Regions from separate parts of the Homo sapiens genome. Here all the other regions are linked to region 3. The links are contacts of gene promoters, found by promoter capture Hi-C in human tissues and cell types (Jung and others, 2019). All regions are on one chromosome and are shown on one strand. Each heading gives the region's core, a stretch centred on a gene start or on the middle of the fragment in contact. The rest is flanking DNA. Distances are from core to core; before and after follow the strand shown. Region 1 has its middle 21 kb from the start of ST3GAL6-AS1. Region 2 has its middle 5.0 kb from the start of OR5K3. Region 3 holds the start of GPR15 (G protein-coupled receptor 15).

What was found. The method cuts DNA at HindIII sites, captures the fragments that hold promoters and counts their contacts. A contact is called where the count stands out against the background at its distance.
Region 1: a contact is called between a fragment that was not itself captured here and the fragment with the promoter of GPR15 in region 3, in 1 of the 25 tissues and cell types used here (H1 embryonic stem cells).
Region 2: a fragment that was not itself captured here is called in contact with the fragment with the promoter of GPR15 in region 3 in 2 of the 25 tissues and cell types used here (heart left ventricle and mesendoderm cells).

The regions. Positions count from the first base shown.
Region 1 is chr3:98,710,543-98,713,382 of GRCh38, forward strand. No RefSeq gene overlaps it. Among named protein-coding and RNA genes, the nearest start is that of ST3GAL6-AS1, 21 kb to the right of the region's middle. The HindIII fragment of the contact is 7,906 bases long and covers 1-2,840 here.
Region 2 is chr3:98,394,292-98,397,091 of GRCh38, forward strand. No RefSeq gene overlaps it. Among named protein-coding and RNA genes, the nearest start is that of OR5K3, 5.0 kb to the left of the region's middle. RefSeq lists an enhancer at 2,231-2,800. The HindIII fragment of the contact is 7,160 bases long and covers 1-2,800 here.
Region 3 is chr3:98,530,699-98,533,398 of GRCh38, forward strand. GPR15 (G protein-coupled receptor 15) reads left to right here and starts at 1,280. Exons shown (of 1, transcript NM_005290.4): 1 at 1,280-2,700. The coding sequence starts at 1,336. The coding sequence ends at 2,418. RefSeq lists a silencer at 1,141-1,300. The HindIII fragment of the contact is 5,385 bases long and covers 1-2,100 here.

The sequences.
Region 1 (2,840 bases), core at 191-2,690, 180 kb after region 3:
TTGCCACTATCATTTCACCTGTAAGTAAGATTCTGAGATATGTTAAGTGAGCTCAGAGACAGCTTGTTCAGTTCTTCACTCGGCTATGATCAAAGCTATACGTTTCACATAATAGCCATAATAGATAACACTTTATAAATACAACCTCGTTTAATCCTCAAAGTTACCCAATGAGGAAGATTGTATTATTATCCTCATTTCACAGGTGATGAAAGTGAGATGTAGGTCCTATGTCCGAGTCACCTAACTTCAAAACCTATTCCATAAATCAGAGGATCACAAAAAGTCTTCACATCAGAAGGGTGCTTGGTCAAAAACATAGATTTCTAGGCAGCCAACTCAGAGATTCTGACTGAGTAAATGTGGAGTGAAGCCCAGTAATCTGTTTTTTAACAAATGTCTCTGTTGAAGCAAGAGTTTAAATCTTTACAATGCTACTCTATAATTTTGTATATTCTGCTTGGCACAGCCCTTTCTCAATTCTTAGTTCTAATTAATCACTCCTTCCACTGGATTCCTGTTCTCATGCCTGGTGCAGCAGGAACCGCATTGTGTTAAAATCAGCTCTCTTTTTCCTTTTTTTTTTTTTTTTAGACAGAGTCTCTCTGTTGCCCAGGCTGGAGTGCAGTGGCACGATCTCTGCCCACTGCAATCCCTGCCTCCAGGTTCAAGTGATTCTCGTGCCTCAGCCTCCCAAAAAGCTGGAACTACAGGCGTCTGCCACCATGCCCGGCTAATTTTTGTATTTTTAGCAGAGACAGGGTTTCACCATGTTGGTCAGGCTGGTGTCGAACACTTGACCTCAAGCAATCCACCCACCTCAGCCTCCTAAAGTGTTGGGATTAAAGGTGTGAGCCACCATGCGCGGCCAAAATGAGCTCTTTTTATGTCTGTCTCCCTGACTAGATGGGGAGCTACTTGATGTCCAGGATCCTGTTTCTTCTTTCTTTCTTTTTCCTGGGTTGCTCATTCCATTAATCTTTACGTAGCTGGGTTCTCCTCATCATTTAGACCTCAACTTGAAAGTTCCCTCCTCAGAGAAGTCTGTTCTGATAACGCAATCAAGAAGCCCTCCAGTCATTCTCTGTCATATCCCATTTCCTCATCTAGTGTAAAGCACAGCAGATGCTCAACTGCAACTGGATTACCCAAATGCAGCTTAAATACATTCTTAGGACACCAAAAACAGAGGCATCAAAAGAACTTTTTTTAAGTTAAAAAGTGGTTATTTTTAAACTACAGAAAAAGTCATTTGAAAATTATCAGGATCTTGCTGGTCTCCCACTTACATTATGGACTAGTATTATTTTTATATAGAATTACATATTGAGTATGGACTCTATAACATTTTTGAACTTTGAGTCTCTAAAGGTTTTAATCTGGCACTCTGCATAGTACCTGCTTATCAATATCTTTGTTTTCCAAAACATATTGAAAATATGTTGGATGGGTATCATTATCCAGTCTTACCTCGAAGAGGTTAAAAAACAGAAGCACAAAAAAGAACAGAAAAAACATTGAACTGATTTTTTATTTTATTTTTTGAGATGGAGTCTTGCTCTGTCTCCTAGGCTGGAGTGCAGTAGGGCAATCTCAGCTCACCGCAAGCTCCACCTCCCAGGTTCACACCATTCTCCTGCCTCAGCCTCCCCAACAGCTGGGACTACAGGCACACGCTGCCACGCCTGGCTAATTTTTTGTATTTTTAGTAGAGATGGGGTTTCACCGTGTTAGCCAGGATGGTCTTGATCTCCTGACCTTGTGATCCGCCAGCCTTGGCCTTCCAAAGTGCTGGGATTACAGGCGTGAGCCACCGCACCCGTCCCGAACTGATTTTTTGGAATCCTTCCTGAATTTGAGCATTTTACTGGGAATAGAATATTAGACTAATAAATTGAGCATTGAACAATGCCCAAAGAGTATGTTCTTTCCTTGCAAAAAGCCTCTTGAGCATTAAAGAATCTACTCTCCAGAGGTTTAATTTGGGCAAGACCCTCACCACGATGAGTTCACTTCATTTTTCTTACTCATGAAATATGGGAACCAAACTAGATAACCTGTAAGATGTGGACCACCTAAGCATTAGACAATTCTACCTTGAGACGTTAAAAAAAAAAAAAGTGCGTGACTCAAGATTTTTTACCAGAAACTCTTCTTCCCCTGATTAAGGTGACTCATCATTCTATCAAAGAAAGAAATGATCTGGCATTATTTATACTCCTCAGGGTCCCACTTGTTATTCTGCTGGGGCTTGAGTTTGTCTCATATGAGACTAGTCTTTGATTTTCTGCATTCTTTAGGATAAATTTAGATGGCACTGGGCTCCATATCCACAGCCGCCAGCATGGTCCAAGCCATTGTCATCTCTTGCCTCAGGTCCTGCAGTAGTCTCCAGACTGGCTTTTCTGCTTCCACTCTTGCATCATTGTAATTCTTTCTCCAAGTAGACCTCAGAGTGATTTTTTAAAAAATATGTCAGATTCAATCACTCCTTGCGTAAAATATTTTATTTACTTCCTTTCGCATTTAGAATCAAATCCCAATTCCTTACCCTTGCCTTCGAGGCCCTGCGTGATGAACGATCTAGCTCCTACCTCCTCTTTGGCTTCCTTGCCCATTACGCTCCCCTCGTATGATATGCTCCAGCCAGACCGATCTGCTGGTTCTTCCCTGCACATGCCAGGCTCATTCATACTATTATAAATAAAGTTTCAGTGCCGCAAAAGAAATAGCGCTCGAATATAAAATTTTCTTTTTAATTCTCAGCAAGACAACGTACTTCTATAGAAGGGTGCACCCTTACAGATGGAGCAATCGTGAGCGCACACTTGGACAAGGGA
Region 2 (2,800 bases), core at 187-2,686, 140 kb before region 3:
AATCCTAACAGGATTTTTGCTGAAGGCAAGCCAGAGTATTCAGATACCAAGAATGGGAAGGGAAGAATTTTGATCAGATATAGAAGGTCATCAGGTATTGAGGATGGGAGGATTCTTGCTAGATTGTCTTTCTGCATTATTTACTAGAACTAGATTTTACAAGAAAGTACACAAGTCAGCCAAAGAGAAGGTTCAGAAGCCTGACCGTAGTTTGTTCAAGGGAAAAAGAGGCATTCTTCCCTTAAGTTTATTTCTCCTCCAGTTTGCTCATTTATGACTAGCAAAACCATCTGCTTGTACCTGGTGCAGGTTGCTAATTGTATTGTGAGATCAATGAGACATTTAATGAGAGGGATACCCATAAAGAAAAACAGAATGATAAATATTAGAGGCTGCTCTGCTGGGTTTTTTTTCTTCCAAGAAGGAAGCTTAGAAGCAGTGTTAGCACACCTCTCCCACTTGAAAGGACAGAATAGCATGTAGAGATTTATGCTGTGAACTTTTTTCAAGAAGCAACACAGGAACTTAACAAGAAAACTGAAAGAAGCACAGGCTGTTTGAAAGAAGTGGCAGGCTACAGCCTACACTGTGAAACAGCCAAAAAACTCTAAGTCCCCAAAGTGTGAGAAGGGGACAGACTGCATCCAGGATACACATCCCCATCAGGGAACGTGAAATCCAGGCCATGGGGGAAGGCCTTTACCCTACCCAGAGCTGGGACTGATTTAGGGAATAGTGAGAAATATAAAAGTAGAGGCAGTAGTGGAAAGCACCTTGCAGGCATTCCCAATCTCTAGCATGGACTGAGGGAAACCATTCATTCCTTATTATACCTCACAGGGACTCAGGGAAGTCAGCCAAGTAGCTCAGACAGTGGTCACAGTTTGAAAGAAGCCTCCAGTTGAATTTTGGGATATAATATTGAGTGGGAGCAAACTCCCTTGGCCAGAACCCAGGGGCAAGTGGGAAGTACACTGCAGCCATGAGTGCAGGAGCCAGGCTGCCAAGGCTGCCTGGAGCTTAGCTCAGTGCTGCTAGCAGAACACTTCAGGAGTGAGAACAACTTTGCCAACTGTGTGGGATCTGGGTGAGGCTTACTGCCACCTGCTACTCTTTACTCCCTGTGCAAACTCTCTTCTGTGCAACAGAGGCAGTTACACTCCCCTCTGGAGCATTACCCCAGCAGCCTGATAAATGCCCTCTGACCCTCAGAGAAGCTGCAGCTTGCCACTCATGTGGAGAGTCAGAGCACAGCCCCAACCTGGCTGTGCCCCTCCACCCTCCCTGGTAGTGTAACACAAATGACAGAAACATTTAGGAGCTTTATGGCCCTGCCCATCACCTGAGAAACCAGAATATCTCCTCTGGGCAAAGCAGGGAAAGCTCAAATCCTGCTACTATTACAGGAGCAGGTACTCTTTGGCAAGTGCTACCTCCTGGCTGGAGGCCAGCCAACACAGTCCACTACAGCATCTCTAGATAGAATAAGAGTGTGCCCAGAAATAAGAAAACTGGTATCTGACCTCAGCTACCACCACTGCCTGCAACACACTGGCTAACCAGGAGGTCTGAGTCTGTCCACATGCCGAGTTCACTACCATCATAATCAACATTCAAGAAAAACAACACACTAAGGCTATCTATAATCAAGGATTCTCACAAAGTCTACATCACTCCCCTGCCACTCCCATCACAGCCAGTACTGGTACCAACTGCTGTGGTTTTGAGGAAAGGTAACATCACTAGAACCCTCACAGACTTTCCCCAGCACCAGCCTGGAGTATAGCAGCCCCACCGGGTGGTTAGACCCAGAAGAACAATCACTATAGTCTGGCTCTCAGGAACTCATACTCCTAGAGTATGGGAGAGAGCACCTCATCAATGGAACACCCCATGGGACAAAACAATCCAGTTCTTCTGGGTGAATATCTGTCTCAAAATGCAACCATGTCAACATTTCCCTGGTCAGCTATTTTTTTTCTGTAATTCCATATATGTTCAACTAGTATGAAATCTGTGCATATTGGAACCACGCAATGCCAAGACTGCCTACACTTACTTTTGAACTGATTGTCTAGGTTCCTAATAAAGAAGTCTCTACCTACCATGAAGGACCCTGAAGCAAAGAAGACAAAATTCTCAACAGAATCAGGAGCATCTCTATAAAAATTCTATTGTTTCCTTAACTTGAGTTATTAAAATACCTGGGACAAAAGAATCTGGATGGCAAGCCTTAAATCCCAGATTTTTCCACTGGTGGGAAGTTTCTTTCAGCAGAGACACAATTGCAGTGCTGGGCTCAGGAGGGAAATTTTGCAGCTCTACTTTAACAGTCAGGCAGCCTTGGTGCTCATGAAAGATCTTACAGAAGGGGAATTCTTTCCTTCCTTGTCCGCCACTGCAGACACAGCTGGGGCTTCTCCCATGGGAGCTCAGCATGGGTGCACCTATAGAGAGTGTCAGGCCTCTGAGCCCAAGCCAAGCCATCGCATCCCCTGTGACTTGCACGTATACGCCCAGATGGCCTGAAGTAACTGAAGAATCACAAAAGAAGTGAATATGCCCTGCCCCACCTTAACTGATGACATTCCACCACAAAAGAAGTGTAAATGGCCGGTCCTTGCCTTAAGTGATGACATTACCTTGTGAAAGTCCTTTTCCTGGCTCATCCTGGCTCAAAAAGCACCCCCACTGAGCACCTTGCAACCCCCACTCCTGCCCGCCAGAGAACAAACCCCCTTTGACTGTAATTTTCCTTTACCTACCCAAATCCTATAAAATGGCCCCACCCTTATCTCCC
Region 3 (2,700 bases), core at 30-2,529:
TTACTATGGTCATCATAATATAAAAGGAAACATATGAGAGAAAAATGTGATAGAATTCTTTCTGTTTTAGCCTGTTCCCCAAGTGTTTTAAATGTACTAAAAAATCTTCCCTTTTATAGTGTCCATGCTGGCACCTCCATCATGATGTCACTTATAGGTATATCTGTTGCCAGATCAGCAATCAGCAATTCCAAAAGTGATGTTCACCCATGTGTGGAGGTACCAGAAGGCCATGGCTCAGAAGCTAAAAAAATCAGTGCTACACAGGTGTGGTATAATGAAGAGAAGATCAGAGGGGATCCAGAGTCTGATGAAGCGTATTTGAGGGTTAATAGGGAGAAAATCTCCTAATCAATGATGTTAACTCTTAACAAAAGAGAACTTCACTGGTTGAATTACAATAGCAGATAGGAGGGTAAAAATAGCAACTTGAGATTGTTAAACCTGTGTTTGTAAGTTACATAAATAACAACAATACCTGAAGTTAGACCCCAATGAATTCATTTCTACTAGATATGCTGGATAACAAAAAGAATTTTCTGAATCAAACCTAATAAACTACAATTTCCAAAGCACCAACTATATGCAAGATGCTATGCAAGTTGTAGTGGAAAACTTAAAATAATAAGAGCAGAAAACGTGGTCCCAGTCTTTGGGGGGGGATTTTTAAAAACTTATGAAACAGGATTGACTACATGTCAAATGAAAGAGCCACATAGATGGGGAGACTCTCATGCCCTAAATGGAATCATGTTGTTTGACCTAGTTGTATACTGGTATGATTTGGGAAACTTTTCATTCACTCTTTACACAATGAAAGACTAGTTTTCTTCCTAGTTCGCCAACAAAGTAAATAAAAAGAATACATTATCATTGCCTTACAATTCTAAAAGCAGAACAATATCTTCTATGTGAAACAGAAGGCTAGATCAAAATAAATTTCAGTGTCAAAAGCAAAGGAGGTCTTTAAAGGAAGTGAAAAAATCAAGTTAATTCACTTCTTAATTACTGGCCTTAAAGAAATAAATTGAATATCTTGAAAAAATAACTCAAAAAGCACCTCAGTTTCACGAGCAAATGCAAATTAAAAAAACCACAACCACAACCAACCAACACCAATCAGAGTGGTGCTCCTTGTGTGCCCTTTCTGAGGATTGGTAGAAACTGCATTTTTTAATCTCGGCTTTCATGTTTGTCCAAGATCTTTAAAGGGAGGGGAAAAAAGAGAGAGAGAGGCAGGCACTGTATAAAAGAAGCTTCCTTGAGGTTTCTAAAATTTATACAAAAACATCATATGTAAGTAAACTCACCAGATTTGGCATCTGCTCTTTGGTGATGGACCCAGAAGAAACTTCAGTTTATTTGGATTATTACTATGCTACGAGCCCAAACTCTGACATCAGGGAGACCCACTCCCATGTTCCTTACACCTCTGTCTTCCTTCCAGTCTTTTACACAGCTGTGTTCCTGACTGGAGTGCTGGGGAACCTTGTTCTCATGGGAGCGTTGCATTTCAAACCCGGCAGCCGAAGACTGATCGACATCTTTATCATCAATCTGGCTGCCTCTGACTTCATTTTTCTTGTCACATTGCCTCTCTGGGTGGATAAAGAAGCATCTCTAGGACTGTGGAGGACGGGCTCCTTCCTGTGCAAAGGGAGCTCCTACATGATCTCCGTCAATATGCACTGCAGTGTCCTCCTGCTCACTTGCATGAGTGTTGACCGCTACCTGGCCATTGTGTGGCCAGTCGTATCCAGGAAATTCAGAAGGACAGACTGTGCATATGTAGTCTGTGCCAGCATCTGGTTTATCTCCTGCCTGCTGGGGTTGCCTACTCTTCTGTCCAGGGAGCTCACGCTGATTGATGATAAGCCATACTGTGCAGAGAAAAAGGCAACTCCAATTAAACTCATATGGTCCCTGGTGGCCTTAATTTTCACCTTTTTTGTCCCTTTGTTGAGCATTGTGACCTGCTACTGTTGCATTGCAAGGAAGCTGTGTGCCCATTACCAGCAATCAGGAAAGCACAACAAAAAGCTGAAGAAATCTATAAAGATCATCTTTATTGTCGTGGCAGCCTTTCTTGTCTCCTGGCTGCCCTTCAATACTTTCAAGTTCCTGGCCATTGTCTCTGGGTTGCGGCAAGAACACTATTTACCCTCAGCTATTCTTCAGCTTGGTATGGAGGTGAGTGGACCCTTGGCATTTGCCAACAGCTGTGTCAACCCTTTCATTTACTATATCTTCGACAGCTACATCCGCCGGGCCATTGTCCACTGCTTGTGCCCTTGCCTGAAAAACTATGACTTTGGGAGTAGCACTGAGACATCAGATAGTCACCTCACTAAGGCTCTCTCCACCTTCATTCATGCAGAAGATTTTGCCAGGAGGAGGAAGAGGTCTGTGTCACTCTAAAGGGAACTGTGACATTTCAAGCTCTGTTGGTGGGTTTAGGAGTTAATTTTTGTCAGCAACAAAGAAGGAAGTGTTAATGATAGGATTCACATTGCTTCATAGATGCAAGGAAGAGTTCATTTTTAAAGAGAGGACTGAAAAATCCCTGTGTTGTGGATATAATTAGGCCATGTGCTGTTTTCTCAGCTAAGCAGCCTTCTTCGACCCTTGCCAATCAAGTCCACCAGACAAAATCCAATTCCCATCTGTCCTTGAACTCCTGGATAAAGGCTCCTGCTTGAA